Linked DNA regions of Homo sapiens: region 2 is linked to region 1. The links are contacts of gene promoters, found by promoter capture Hi-C in blood cells and fetal thymus (Javierre and others, 2016). All regions are on one chromosome and are shown on one strand. The core of a region is centred on a gene start or on the middle of the fragment in contact, and the rest is flanking DNA. Distances in the headings are between cores, read along the strand shown.

Region 1 (6,801 bases), core at 2,503-5,002:
CTTACAAAAATAATAGTTTCTGCATACTCTGCACTTAGCTTCCCCAAAGCTAACATCTTACCTAATTACAGTGCAATTAAAGAAACCAGAAAATTCACATTGTACCATGCTGTAGATTAATCTGCATGCCTCATTTGAATTTAATCCAGTTTCCAAATCCATTTTTTTCTTGGACCACAGTATTTTTAAATCTTACCATTAATTGCCAACATGTTTAAATGTAAGAGACTTCCCATCACATTCTAGATTCCAAGCTTCTCTTGAAACATCAAAAGATCTAGCAACACTGGGCCTATAGTCCTGCAGGGCAGCAATCAGCTAAAGCTGAGCAGCAGCTGTGCCCTTTAGAGAGGGAACATGTTCTCTTTGATTCCCTGACACTGGGACTGACTGTTCTGGTAGTCTCCACTAACAGTAACAGTCTAGCAATAACAGACTGTTGCTATTTGTCATTGAACTGGCACTATTGTTTTTCTTACAGCAGAATTATGAGAAAGTGAAATCAATGTAACACATGTGTCCATCAAAAGTAACAAAAATGAAAAGTAGAGAAAAAGGACATATGTTTTGAGAAAAATAGGATAATTTTTGTCTTTGTGGAAAGGAAGGATATTCCTTCATATCAAATACGTAAACAGAGTATGCTTTCATTTAAAAGAGACACCCCACAAGGCCTCATGCCATGGCTCACTCCTGTAATCCCAGCACTTTGGGAGGCTGAGGTAGATGGATTGCTTGAGCCCAGGTGTTTGAGACCAGCCTCAAACTGGGTGACTTGGCAAAACACCATCTCTACAAAGAAACTCAAAAATTAGCCAGACATGGTGGCACCTGCCTGTGGTCCCAGCTACTTGAGAGGCTGAGGCAGGAGGTTCACTTGAGCCCATGAGGCAGAGCTTGCAGTGTGAGACTGCATAACTGCACTCCAAACTGGGTGACAGAGCAAGACCCTGTCTCAAAAAAAGAGAGAGAGAGAGAAAGAGAGACACTGAGAGTTTTTCTCATTTATATCACCTCCATTTGAGTTTGCAAACCCCTTACACAAATCTTATCCTAAAGAAGCTTTAGGTCAGGCGTGGTGGCTCACGCCTGTAATCCCAGCACTTTGGGAGGCCAAGGAAAGCAGATAACTTGAGATCAGGAGTTCGAGACCAGGCTGGCCAACATGGTGAAACCCTGTCTCTACTAAAAATCCAAAAAAAAAAACCATCGGGCGTGGTGGCACGCACCTGTATTTCCAGCTACTCAGGAGACTGAAGCAGGAGAATCACTTGAACCCGGGAGGTGAAGGTTGCAGTAAGCCAAGATCACACCACTGCACTCCAGCAAGGCATATATTTGTGGAAATTTAGGCAACAACTATACAATAAATATACACAAATATGCCAAGATGTCAACCCTAGATCACTTCAACCTCTGTCCTAATCATTTCCAACACCTAGATGCAACCCTGCAGACTGGGACCAGCATCACTTAAGACTCCTCTGCCATCCCTTAGCAATAGGCTCAGCTCCCTAGCCCATGCCCTATGCACCTCTTCTAAACCTTCAACACCTTCCTCAAATTTCTCCACTGCACTCCATCTCATTTTCAGTCAATTACTTTGCCTTCTGTTTCTCAAAGAAAAGAGACATCATTGAGCAGGAACCTTCTCACGTTCTCATATCCAAGCCGTTTTGGCTCACAACCTACTTGCTGTCTCAGTTAAAGACTTGCCCCCTTATGGGATCCTACACTGTCCTACTGCCTCAGAAATCTTGTTCTTAATCCCATCCCCTCATTGCTTCAACTCTCATTCCTGTCACTCTCGACTGGCCTTTTTCCTTTCACATAACCATGCTTAAATCTATCTCAACTTTCAAATGAAAGAAATTTTTAAAATTCTCTTTCGGCCGGGTGTGGTGGCTCATGCCTGTAATCCCAGCACTTCAGGAGGCTGAGGCGAGTGGATCACGAGGTCAGGAGACTGAGACCATCCTGGCTAACACGGTGAAACCCCGTCTCTACTAAAAAAAATACAAAAAATTAGCCGGGTGTGGTGGCATGCACCTGTAGTCCCAGCTGCTCAGGAGGCTGAGGCAGGAGAATCGCTTGAACCCGGGAGGTGGAGGTTGCAGTAAGCCGAGACTGCACCACTGCACTCCAGCCTGGGTGACAGAGTGAGACTCTGTCTCAAAAAAAAAAAAAAAAAATCCTCTTTCAACCACACTTTCCACTCTAGCAACTACCCTGTATCACCCCTTCTCTTCACAGCCAAGCAAACTGGACATGTGTGTATGGTTAATGTCTCCATTTTCCCTCTCCCATTTACTCATTAAGTCAGCATCACTTAAAACTGCTTTCGGTGTTAATAACACCAATGGCTTTTTTGCTAAAACCAATGGAAATGTTTGCATCTGACACTGGGACACACTTCCTCTTAGAAATGTCCCATTCCCTGGGCTTCTCTGATACCAAGCTCTTGGGATTCTTCTTTCATTTCTAGTGGTTCCTTCTCAGATTGGCTCAGTCCCCAGCCTCTCCTCTTCTGACTCATTCATTTAACCTACCAAGAAGGCAACCTCCCCAGTCCCAGGGCTGTTGGGCATCCCTACCCTTTGGGCATGCAGCACATCCATTTTTCTGACACTGGAGGGCAAGTGTGCCTTTTCTTTCTGCCTCCCGCTAGACAGTAAGCTCTTTTAGAATGGCAACTATTAATATGTTTCATCTCTGTACCTGCCCTCCCACTCATAGCATCTGCAGAGCTTGGTATATGGGGTAGACACGAAGACTTCCCGTTGAAGAAGTAAATGACTGAGACCTGAGTGACCACAGTACTTCTATCAATTTTATATTAATGACCACAGAGTCAGCTCAGTGATTGATTAGTATCAGGCTTTGGAGTCAGACATCGGGGGTGCCCAATACCAAGCAGTCCGGTAACCAGAAGCATGACCTTGCACAAGTAAATCTCCAAGAGCCTCAGTTTCCTCATTGTCAAATGGAGATAATTATGGTACCTGCTTCTTAAGATTATGATAATTAAACGTGAAAAATACATGTAAAGTCTTCAGAGACAAACCTAGCACATAGCAGGTAGCAGTACTTAATGTTAGCAATAAATAATAGCAAATAAAGTCAATATTTAATATTATTGTTACGTTAGCATCAGGTACATGCCTTCGACAATGTATTGATCAGAGTAAGAGCACTACTAGGTTTCCATGCTGATCACCAGGAAGACAACCAAAAACTGCTGTCTTCCTACCACCGCTTGGAAACATGCGTCCATTTGCTCATTAAACGTTTTACTTCCTTCCTGTGCCAGAGCTCTGCCTTAGGCTCTGTCCTGAAATTTATTTGGCACCTGCAAAGGCCCAGTGATAACTCTTGGCAACCGAATCAAAATGCCACAACTTCACAATTCCACTGGCTCACTCCAAACGTGAAATAGAAATTGAGCACCTGGAACCTATCTAGAGCCTGCTTTTGGGCCCTGGTGTTTGATAACTGCGCCCCACCCACTGACTCTCAACCTCTGCAGCGCCCCGGGCTCTAGCCCTAAGCGCCCCTCGGCCAGCCGCTGGCACATCTCTTACACCAGGGGAGGCGCGCGCGCGCGCACACATACACACACACACACGCACACACACACACACACACACCAGCCTTCCTTGCCCACCTGCTGCCCAGAGGCCGACGACGCATGCACCAGCAAGGACAAGCCCAGTCTTTTCAAGCGACACCTGTCGCCTGGCCTTTTCCGTGCCGGAGGGCGCGAGTCTCACGCTGTCTTTTAAATGCGTCACCCAAATCCCCACCCCTATCTGTACCAGGCGTTCCGCACTCCTCCCAGTGGTTTGCATGTGCACTGGTGCTTTCCTTTTAGGACTTAGGGGAACTCCAGCGGTAATAACCACACACACTTCCTCTTAATCAGTGGCCTGGCAAACCCACTCGGGGATTTCCATGACCCAAAAGCATGACTCTTAACCGTGGCATATCTTCGCGGCATTTACTGAAAGACATTTGCTTCATTGCTCGTGGGTCAGAGGAAATCTTGATAACAACCCATATAGAGAGGACGATCATTGCTTAGCCTGCCTGGAAAAGGTCAATATGCCCTGTTCTCCACCCTCCATCCGCCATACACTTTACACGTAAAAAGGTTAGGTTTTTCAATCTTCTACTATAGCTGCAGAAGTCCAGCATTTAAAAAAAAAAAAATCGAAACTTTGTGAAATATTTCTATTTATTTTTACTTTTTGTTCTGATCAAGAAAGTAAGAGGTGAAAGGAAATGTAGGGGTATGTGAAAAAAATCATGCAGTTCTCCTTTGCAGTTTATTTTACCATTTTAAAGATTGAAATGGCTTGGTAAATTTTCTGTATGGAAATACTTTTGTTTGGTTTGGTGAGTTGTTTTTTTTTTTTTTTTAATAAGTAGGGTGGAGTTGGCTACTTAAAAAAATCCCTCCTTTATAGCCTTTGATCTCACAGGGCAGGTTTCTGAGTTGCAGTGCCATTCTCAGGGAAACCTGACATCTTTGAGTCTAATTGCACTGCCATATTTCCCTCAACGTTCTCTAAGCAGTAAATTTAAGCAACTTTATCTGAGAGCCATCCGTACCAGGGTAACAGATGGATTTGGAGAGCTCATCTGATTTTCTATCTTCCAGTAGATCAAAGACAATTACCAACCAGAGACAGAGCCCATAAAGATTATTGGAGACTTCATCGTTCTGTGGAAACAGCATCCAGTGCATTCTGCACGCAATTGGACTGAGCTGAGGCATCCTCTTGTTTAGGTGGACTTGGCTGTCCATAGCAGCTGAAGTTCCAGTTGGAATTATTTCAGAAAGACTAAGTGTATTTATCATATGGAGATTTTAATCCACATTTGAGTCTGCTTCAATCAAGACTTTCTAAGCCATTTTCAACTCACTCCTGAGATTATTGAAAATAATTTGCAGGCCTTACACATTTTTGATTATGTACTCACCAGAAGAATTTTGAAAAGCTCTGCATTCCCTTGCCCATTTTTAACTTAACATTAAAACATAAAGCTCTTGTACATGTCAAGAATCTACAAAATGTAAACATAGATATTTTCAGAAAAAATTGATAGAGCACTCTTTTAAATGTATTTGATGGATCCTAATACCATAGTAATTTGACATACATGATCATCCATGAAGCAATTATCAGGTCATCTTTAATAACTGAAAATATTTTATCATTGCCTTTTGTCATTGAACATTCCAATTCCCCTACAGAATGTTAATACATGTTTGTACTGAACATCTTTTATCATCTCTCTGTCACATATCTCTGAAACAAATACATATTAGAACTTGAAATCTATTTTTTTCTCTGGGATCATAAGGATCTAAGTGTTAAAAAAAAAAAAAATTCCTCTTTGACCAGGCATGGTGGCTCACGCCTATAATACCAGCACTTTGGGAGGCGAAGGTGGGTGGATCATCTGAGGTCAGGAGTTCAAGACCAGTCTGGCCAACATGGTGAAACCGGTCTCTCCCAAAAATACAAAAATGAGCCAAGTGTGGTGGTGCACGCCTGTAGTCCCAGCTACTTGGGAGGCTGAGGCACAAGAATCACTTGAACCTGGGAGGCAGAGGTTGCAATGAGTCAAGACAGTGCCACTGCACTCCAGCCCTGGAACAGAGTGAGACTGCATCTCAAAAAAAAAAAAAAAAAATCCTCTTTGATTACATTATCATTGATATTGTTTTCATTACTTTTAAAGCATAATTGGTCAATACAATATAAAAATATCGTAAATGTTAATAACTGCATTACAAATACAATTTAAGGGGGTGGCAGCTTGTATTTTAAGCAAGTTTTTCAAGTGTGCAGTCATGAATATTACCTATAGCTATAATATGTTAGGGTTCAGCACAGATTCTGTTCCTTTTTTCATTTCTACAGACATAAATGTTGTAAACCTTATTTCACAGAAGTAAGTAGATAAGTAGATAGGCCCAGAAGAAACATTATTATGGCAATTTTTTCACAATTTAAAAAATATGTTTTATATTCCAAAAATCATTTAGTGATCTCTAATCAAAATATGTAATTACTTATCAGTAGACAACTCAATTTTGTTGAAATTGGTGGTTTAGAAACCACTGAACTTTTGGTATCCAGATACAGTTGACAGAGTTAGCAAATTAAAACAGAGAACACCTAGTTAAATTTTGGTTTAATATAAACAATGAATGCATTTCCAGTATAAGAATGTATTGTGCAATATTTGGCACCTAGCTATACTAATAAGTTATTCATTAGTTATCTGAAATTTAGATTCAGTTTGGTGTTCTGTATTTTACCTGGCAACCCTATATCCAGATATTAGAGTCATTCATTTTCTCAACACTAATACAGATCGATTATTTCAAATCATCCAGGAGGTTTCTACACCCAGAGAAATATACGATTTTAAAACTCATGATAGGTGAGAGGTGAGCCTGTCTTTTAAGGGAAGACAGAGAACCATTGTGAAAAGGGAGATGAGAAGACAGAACAACCCTGGCAACCTTCACAGTTCTTGTTTTCAAGCAGATCAGTTTTGGGAGAAGCTACATATGGAAGTTGAGAGTGAGACTATTAATTCCTTAAAACTATTTGAGCTCCCACCTCCCTGTTGGTAAGTCTTTGTAAACACCCAGGGGCACACTTACCCCAGTTTAAAAACTATGGCTGGCCAGGCACATTGGCTCACACCTGTAATCCCAGCACTTTGGGAGGCTGAGGTGTGTGGATCACCGGAGGTCAGGAGTTCGAGACCAGCCTGGTCAAC
Region 2 (7,240 bases), core at 941-3,440, 610 kb before region 1:
ATGGAGTCTTGCTCTGTCACCCACGCTGGAGTGCAGTGGCGCGATCTCGGCTCACTGCAACCTCCGCCTTCCAGGTTCAAGCATTCTCCTGCCTCAGCCTCCCGAGTAGCTGGGACTACAGGCGCATGCCACTGTGACCGGCTAATTTTTGTCTTTTTAGTAGAAATGGGGTTTCACCATTTTGGTCAGGTTTGTCTTGAACTCCTGAGCTCAAGTGATCCACCCGCCTCAGCCTCCCAAAGTGCTGAGATTACAGGTGTGAGCCACCACACCTAGCCAGGAGTATTGGTTTGATGATGAGGATGGTCCTGGGTGGCTGCAGTAAAGAAATTGGAGCCAATGTGATAATACAGACAATAAATTATCTATAAAACATTATGTAAATCAGCCTCAAGGCAGTTCTTAACCTGCTCCCAGAAGAATGATGTGAAACACTGAAGAAACTAAGTAGCCCCTCCAAGTCTCAGTTTCTAAAATATGGCTGATAATAGTAACAAACATGTATACTTTTCTATGTGCCAGGGATGTTTACATGCTTCACATACATTAATTAACTTATTGTCACAAAAGTTCTATTTTTGTTCTTATGAGTGAGGAAGAAAGCACAGAGAGGTGAAGAGACTTGCCCTAGGTCACACAACCAGTATGTGGAAGAACTGGGATTTGAACCCAGCCATTCTACCTCTAGAACTATGCACTAAACTGAAAGAATGGATCTACAGCACTTAGCAGACTCCTTGGCACATAGCAAGTGCTCAGTAAGTCATAGCTGCTACTTCCTCAATCCTGAAGATGGCGGTAAAAGTGGGTCATGTGTGGTAGAGGTATGGGTGAGAGGTCTCACGAAATCACACACAAACCTCACCCTCAACACCAGTATCTGAAGTCATTCTTTCAGGTTTACAGCAGTGGTCCTCAAGTACTTCCTCTGTCTGTACAACCTCAGGGCCACTTCTCAGTTTAGTCAAATAATTAAGTGTTCGTATATCTACTGTGTATTTTTGAGGACATAAAGTTCTGTTTTAAAAATTCAAAAAAAAATCTAGAATTAAAACTAAAAACATGAATCATGGTTTTTTTTATTTGCAACTAATAAGTCTTGCCTCCCTTCATTTGGTTCTGGACAAACAGAGGGTCCTTCCTCGATGGGTGGTGGAATCAGAAGATCCTTCTGCCCTTTGTGAAGACCATTCGACCTTTTAGCCAACTACTGAACTATCCACACTAATGGTGATTATTGGCATGGGAATATGGTGGCTTAGGAAACAGGAACAAATGCCCAAGAAAAGATGCATTATTATTGGTCCACAGAATAAAGTTTAAGCTTTGTTTGAGGAAACAGTTTTTCTTTTACTAGATATCTTAGTTAGGCTAGTTTTAAAATTCATCTGTATTTCCTGAGCATATACAAAGCCAAGGGGGAACGACCCAGTGGTTTCTAAAATACAAAGAATATTAGCCAGTCATCAGGAATTTCTCTCAGGGAAAGGTGAAGACCAGATGGGATGATGGAAGCACTGTACTTGGGACATAAAACATCTGAGACTAAAATCTTGCTGGATCCTCAAGTGGGCACAGACAAAAAGTGTCGACATCCAATGCTTCCCTGAACCTATTTACTCCCATACTTACACAACTTGGCCATGCCATATGACCCAGTCAGCTGAAGTACAAGGTAGTCATTTTTTCCAAACATATGCCTGCCTTTATTTCTACATCAGTAATTGAATCAACTCTGAGGATTCATAGAGTTGCTGAAAACACCAAATCCTCTTGAGCCTTAACCCATTCTTTTAAAACCACGTGGAGTGTATGTAGTCATTCCACAGACAGCACATCGACATGGCCATACCCTTAGATCACTGAAACGTGTCTCACGCTATCCGGAGGATATGTTCATATCTCTCTGCCAGCTCCAGTAGTAACTGACAGTTGATGCTATCAACTCCCAATTCCTCCTCGAGAAAAGGAAGAAGATACTTTAAGGTGTTCCCTTCAGTGGTATAGTCATTGATGATTCTTTACTTAGTGAAGAAGGATTAAGACTTTGGACCTGGGGGTAAAAACACACCCTGTAGAAGCATAGTTTTATACCAGCTGAATGTATGTTACTGAACATGAAATCACAATCATCAGAATTGAGTCAAGTTTGAGAAGGCTCTCTGTATATCCCCTCTAGGCTAATTCCCATAGCTGGAGCTCTCAGGAGGTGGGCAAGCTACCATTAATAAAACTGTCGTCCAAATTTCTTAAAATAAAATTTAACTCTGAGTTTTTGTTCATTCCTTCCTAATTCACTAGGGATAGCAATACTGTGTATATAGCAAGTCAATTCTGATTACTGAGGTTGTTGGTATATTTCTCAGGGAGGAACTAAAATTAGGTTTAGGTTTAAAACTGAGCCAAGCCACTCATGTGAGAAGTTTAAGTAAAAAGTGCCAGAATAACATACAAAAGACACTTCAAAAGAAAAAAAAATTAAAAGTAGCAGGACATATTTAGTTCATCATATAAATTGACTGGCAGGTTAGAGTTGCAAGATATCAGATTATTTGATCTATATAATTTTACCACCTAGGGTTACACATCATTCCCATGGCAAAGTAGGTACATTCTCATGGTTGCTGACCACTGGCAACATACTTGGTGACCAAGGGCAGAGTAGTCTGGGAAATAACAGGCCCCTGAAATTAATTGGGTCTCCCTTCTTACCCTCAATGAAAGTGCAAAAACTTCCAGTATTCCAGTGACTCCCCGTGTAGCTTCTCTCCGAGGTAGTATAGTTCTACTACAATCCCTAGACAACCGCTCTGTTAAGACAGAGACTCATTTTATCTGTGTGGCACTGAGTAGTTTCATCTTTTACCTGTGACAAAGGATAGCGACTTTGGCATGCCCTCCCAGGCTGGCAGTCCCCGTTGTGATGGTTCCTGTACCTGAGCTATGGTGACGAGGTGACTGTGATGATCACCCGCAGGCCAGGGCTGGCTGTAGGACCTTGAATGAATCTAGCAGGTTTTCTGCTTTGGTGAGAGTCATGTTGGCTACAAAGCTTCCCAGGTTCATGGTCTTATTCTGACTCAGAAACACCCCTGTGTATGAAATGCTGGTCACTGGCTTAGAGGAGGGTTTAGACAACAGAAGCTGATTACAGTGTGCAAGGAGAAAGGGAAGAGAAATGGGAGGAAATAAGGGGCCTTGGAATGGAATAAGAGAAAGAAAAGACTGCATATTCTGCAGCTATTCACCCTGCTACAAACTGCTGTGCCCAAAGGGCACTTGGGAGATGTGCCTCCCACCCCAAATGAGTACACATTAAACAGTGCAGAAGTGGAATATGCTGTCTGGAGCGTGTGTGTATGTGTGTGCTCATCAGGGGAGCTATTACATCCACCTAGTCCTATTTTCCTGCAGCATGGACCACAATAAGAGCACATGAGCCCTAGAGCACAGCGACTGGAAGATCGACAGCCCAAGACTAGAGGTGGTCCCACAGCCTCTGCAGACCCAAAGATACACATTTAAATTCCCTCTCTGGAGATACCCAGAATTTCTTTTGGTGTTTTGGCCACAGCAGCACAGCTGTCAAATGTGATAATGCAGCACAGTAATGCCAAAAAAATAAAATATCAAAGTTTGAATTTGAGCTCTAGCACTTTCAAGCACCTCTGTATTTCACATTCTTGTGCATTAAAATGAAGATAGAAATACTTGCCTTGCCTACCTCACAGGTTGCTCTAAAGATTATATAAAATAGCATCCTTGAAACATGTAAATGATAAAGTATGTATTAACATGAAGTATTATTGGTTATTCCTAGATCCCAGCTCCCTCTCCCTCCTTCCCTTTTTTCCTTCTTTCCTCCCCTCCCTCCCTTTCCTTCCTTCCTTCCTTCCTTCCTTCCTTCCTTCCTCCCTCCCTTCCTTCCTTCCTTCCATCCTTCCTTCCTTCTTACATTCCTACTATCTTCTAAGATCTCCAAAGGCTAAGTGCTAAGCAATGGGGAGTTTGGCTTGCATCACTGGAAGTTATTGTTCAAATCATCTCTGAATGAATTCACTTATACCTCCTCACATTTAAACTGAAGGAATCATAAAGTAACAAACACTAACAGGAAGGAATAGAGGCACAGCAAGTTCATATGGCATATTTAGAACTCATTTATTATATAGAAAAGCATCTTTCAGATTTTCTAGACTAATAAATATTTTGTCCCTTTCTTCAGTTTTTGGTAGTTCTTTAAAATCTGTTTCTTCAAAACCTTTTGACTTTGGAATTAGGATCTTTAAGGTGTTGTACCAATAAATTTAGAAAAAGACTTCTGTCATTACATGATGTCTAAGCCAGTACAAACTAGACAGGGAAAATACAGCCCTGGAACAAGCTGAATCTTGTAGTTCATTTGTGGTTTTAAAATGATTAACTTGTGGGAAAGGAAAATCAATTATACTGTAATAAACCTTATTACAGAGAAAAGCTTTAAAGCAAGCACATGTTTAATTAGTAACCTAGACATTATTACTCACTCACAGCCTTCCTTGCCTTTCATGTGGTAATATATGTAATTTATTAACCATTTTGGAAAATCTGTTTTGCCATGAAGCTCCAGTTCCAGTAAATGTAATACAATCCAGAGGATTGAGAAGGAGAGGGTGATGAAGCGTATAGACCCCTAGTCTAGTGTGACTCTAAGACACTGCTATTTCAGTGGGCAAACATTTGAGTATCCCCTAGGTTGTCCTTAAGCCTAGTTGAATGAGCAAGATAGGCGGGGACCCCTCTATTCTGTTACCAATGATAAAATTGCGCTCTATCAATTTTACTGACTGGAGAAGAGTGCTTACTAAAGGCCTAGCCGACCTTACACGTTCAGATAGAATTCTCTTTTCCTCTTCTACAAAGCACATTGCTTTTACTTTTCTTCCAGCATTTGTGTCTCCCATTAGCTTGCAGAAGCATTGTGGGATCACATCTTGTGCCTACAGCTCTGCCTTTTACATAGAACGTTCTGAACCAAATTGGATTGAAGCTTGACCCTGATATGGAACTATGAGGCTCCACATAACACACAAATTTTACAACACAATGATGGTGCCAATGTTTCTAAAGGACTCAAAGCCGCCACAGAAATGGTAACCTGAACAGGTTCATCATTGCCACATTAAACAGTAAACTTCTGGGGGCATGAGTAGTGAATGCATTTGATTCTGACAGACTCTCACACTGTCCTCAGCTTTCCTCTCCCTCTCTCTTCTAGATAATATGTTACTTGAGGGTGGAGGCACTAGTTGTCTCCTATTGTTGATGATTCTTTTCCTATCTCTCTACCCCAATGTCAAATGCTGTTATAGCACATGTCAGTGCTCGAGGCATAGTTCATGAACTGCACTGAGTCTACTTCTGACATGTAATTAATTCATCCAATCCTTGTTACGTGGCTTCAACCCAAAGCCCTACTATCCTACTGAGACTGTGCTTTCCAAGGTTTTCTGAATAGCTGTGTTTCTTTAATTGTCAAGCATAAGAGTCTTTATTCCTCATGTCTTTGACTATTTTTGGACATCAGGGAATGGTTAGGGGTGGAAGCTTTTGACGCTGCTGACATCTGCCCACTTTTCAAAGGTCCTGGCATCCATGGCTTCTGTAAGGTCACACTTAATTGGTGTTTTGCTTAGTTCTCTTAGTTCTGAGATTTTTTTCTTCTGCTTTCCCATAAATGTTCTCTAAGTTTCTCTCTTCAGGCCTTTTCTTTCTCCTTGTCATCCTGCCTTTTCCTGCTTAATGCACTTCTGGCATTTCCAATGGCTCTTTCCTGAGAAGACACTGCCTCTTAAGGCTGTATCTCTAGCCCAATCTTGATCTGAATTTTGAGTGGTGGTTGCAACTCTCCATTTGAAGTTCTTGGTGGTGACACTGAACTTCACAAAGCAAGACAGTGCCTGATTGGTCCCAATTTGCGTCACCGATGTCACTCACCTCTTGTCACTTATCTCCTAATTTTTTCCCTGTTCTTTGACCACGTTGGTGCCTTTCTGTTCTTCCCACCTATCAAGCTCATTCCTGCCCCAGGATCTTTGCAATTGCTCTTCCCCTTTGGGACCCACCTCCCCTGGTTCTCCACACCGCTGGCTCCTTACTCTTAGGCAGCCTGGGGGCAGCTGCTGTCTTTCATGGAACTCTGTTCTACTTCCTCCATAGGGTTTATCACTCTCTCAGTGTGGATCTGTTACCTGTTTGTTTAAATGCAAGTTTTATGAGACTGAGTCTCGGTCACATTGTAGCCTTAGCACCTAGCACCCATTAGACATGCCATTACTGAATTCTGCATTAAGAAAACCTGGGTTTTAGTCCTAGATCTGTTACTGACCAGCTGTGTATGCTTGGGCAATTCACTTTGCCTCCTCAGACAACCGTTTTCTCTTCTGTAAAAAGATGGAGCTCTGATTTTTAAACCACTTTCCATGCACCGTCTAAGAGCCCCCCTTAGGTGTGTGTTGGGGTTGGGGAAGTAATGAGAGGAGGCCTGAGTAGGAAGTATGTGGGACCCTCCCACCCAATCTTACCCCAACAAGAATCATTTTCCTTTTATTTTGCTACACGTATTGGACTCCCATTTAAAATTTCATGTGCAGAAAGATGCCTACATTAAAATTAAACATACAAATTTTAAAATCACTGATTCTGATCATTATTAGGCCTTTTTCATCTTGAATTATGACTCTATCCAAAGCACTTTTCCTGTCTTCCCACAAGCCAATTTGAATTTCCTAGTACTATTTTTGGTTTTGTCACACAAATCCAAAACTTCACAGTTGTTTTTGACAGATTCCTGTTCCTCCCCTCCTCCACCCAGCTGGTTGCCCAATTCTCCTAAATGCCTTCCTCATCAGTTTCTTATTTTTATTCCCACTGCCTAAGCCCTGGGTCAGGATCTGATAACTTCTTACCCAGACCATTGCAATAGCCTGCATACTGTCCTCCCTGCCTCCTGTGCTGGTCATCCTTTCCCACACAGTTACTAATTCATCTTTCTAAACAATATTCTAGTAGTTTTTGTTTAAAACCTTCAGTGGCTTTTTATTGCCTATACAGTGAATCTAGATGACTTATCCAGGATCCTGTCCTAGACAAAGCACAGTCTGTGCCTACCATATCCACAGCCCTCTCCTCACAGTCCCATACACAGGGGCCACCATGTTCTCTCCCACAGGATCCCACTGTCCTGGCCAAAGCATCTGGC

The links. Contacts are between HindIII fragments. The CHiCAGO score rates a contact against its expected background, and 5 or more counts as called.
Region 2: a contact is called between a fragment that was not itself captured here and the fragment with the promoter of BIRC3 in region 1, in 2 of 17 cell types (M2 macrophages and M1 macrophages). The highest score is 5.5, in M2 macrophages.

Annotation. Positions count from the first base shown.
Region 1 is chr11:102,314,435-102,321,235 of GRCh38, reverse strand. It overlaps BIRC3 (baculoviral IAP repeat containing 3), which reads right to left and starts at 3,752. Exons shown (of 9, transcript NM_001165.5): 1 at 3,665-3,752. It overlaps LOC124902739 (a long non-coding RNA gene), which reads left to right and starts at 3,993. Exons shown (of 2, transcript XR_007062864.1): 1 at 3,993-4,150; 2 at 4,664-5,341. RefSeq lists enhancers at 770-879, 2,761-2,960, 3,762-4,121, 4,132-4,201, 3,106-4,305 and 2 more. The HindIII fragment of the contact is 7,438 bases long and covers 1,065-6,801 here.
Region 2 is chr11:102,927,420-102,934,659 of GRCh38, reverse strand. No RefSeq gene overlaps it. Among named protein-coding and RNA genes, the nearest start is that of MMP13, 25 kb to the left of the region's middle. The HindIII fragment of the contact is 1,728 bases long and covers 1,327-3,054 here.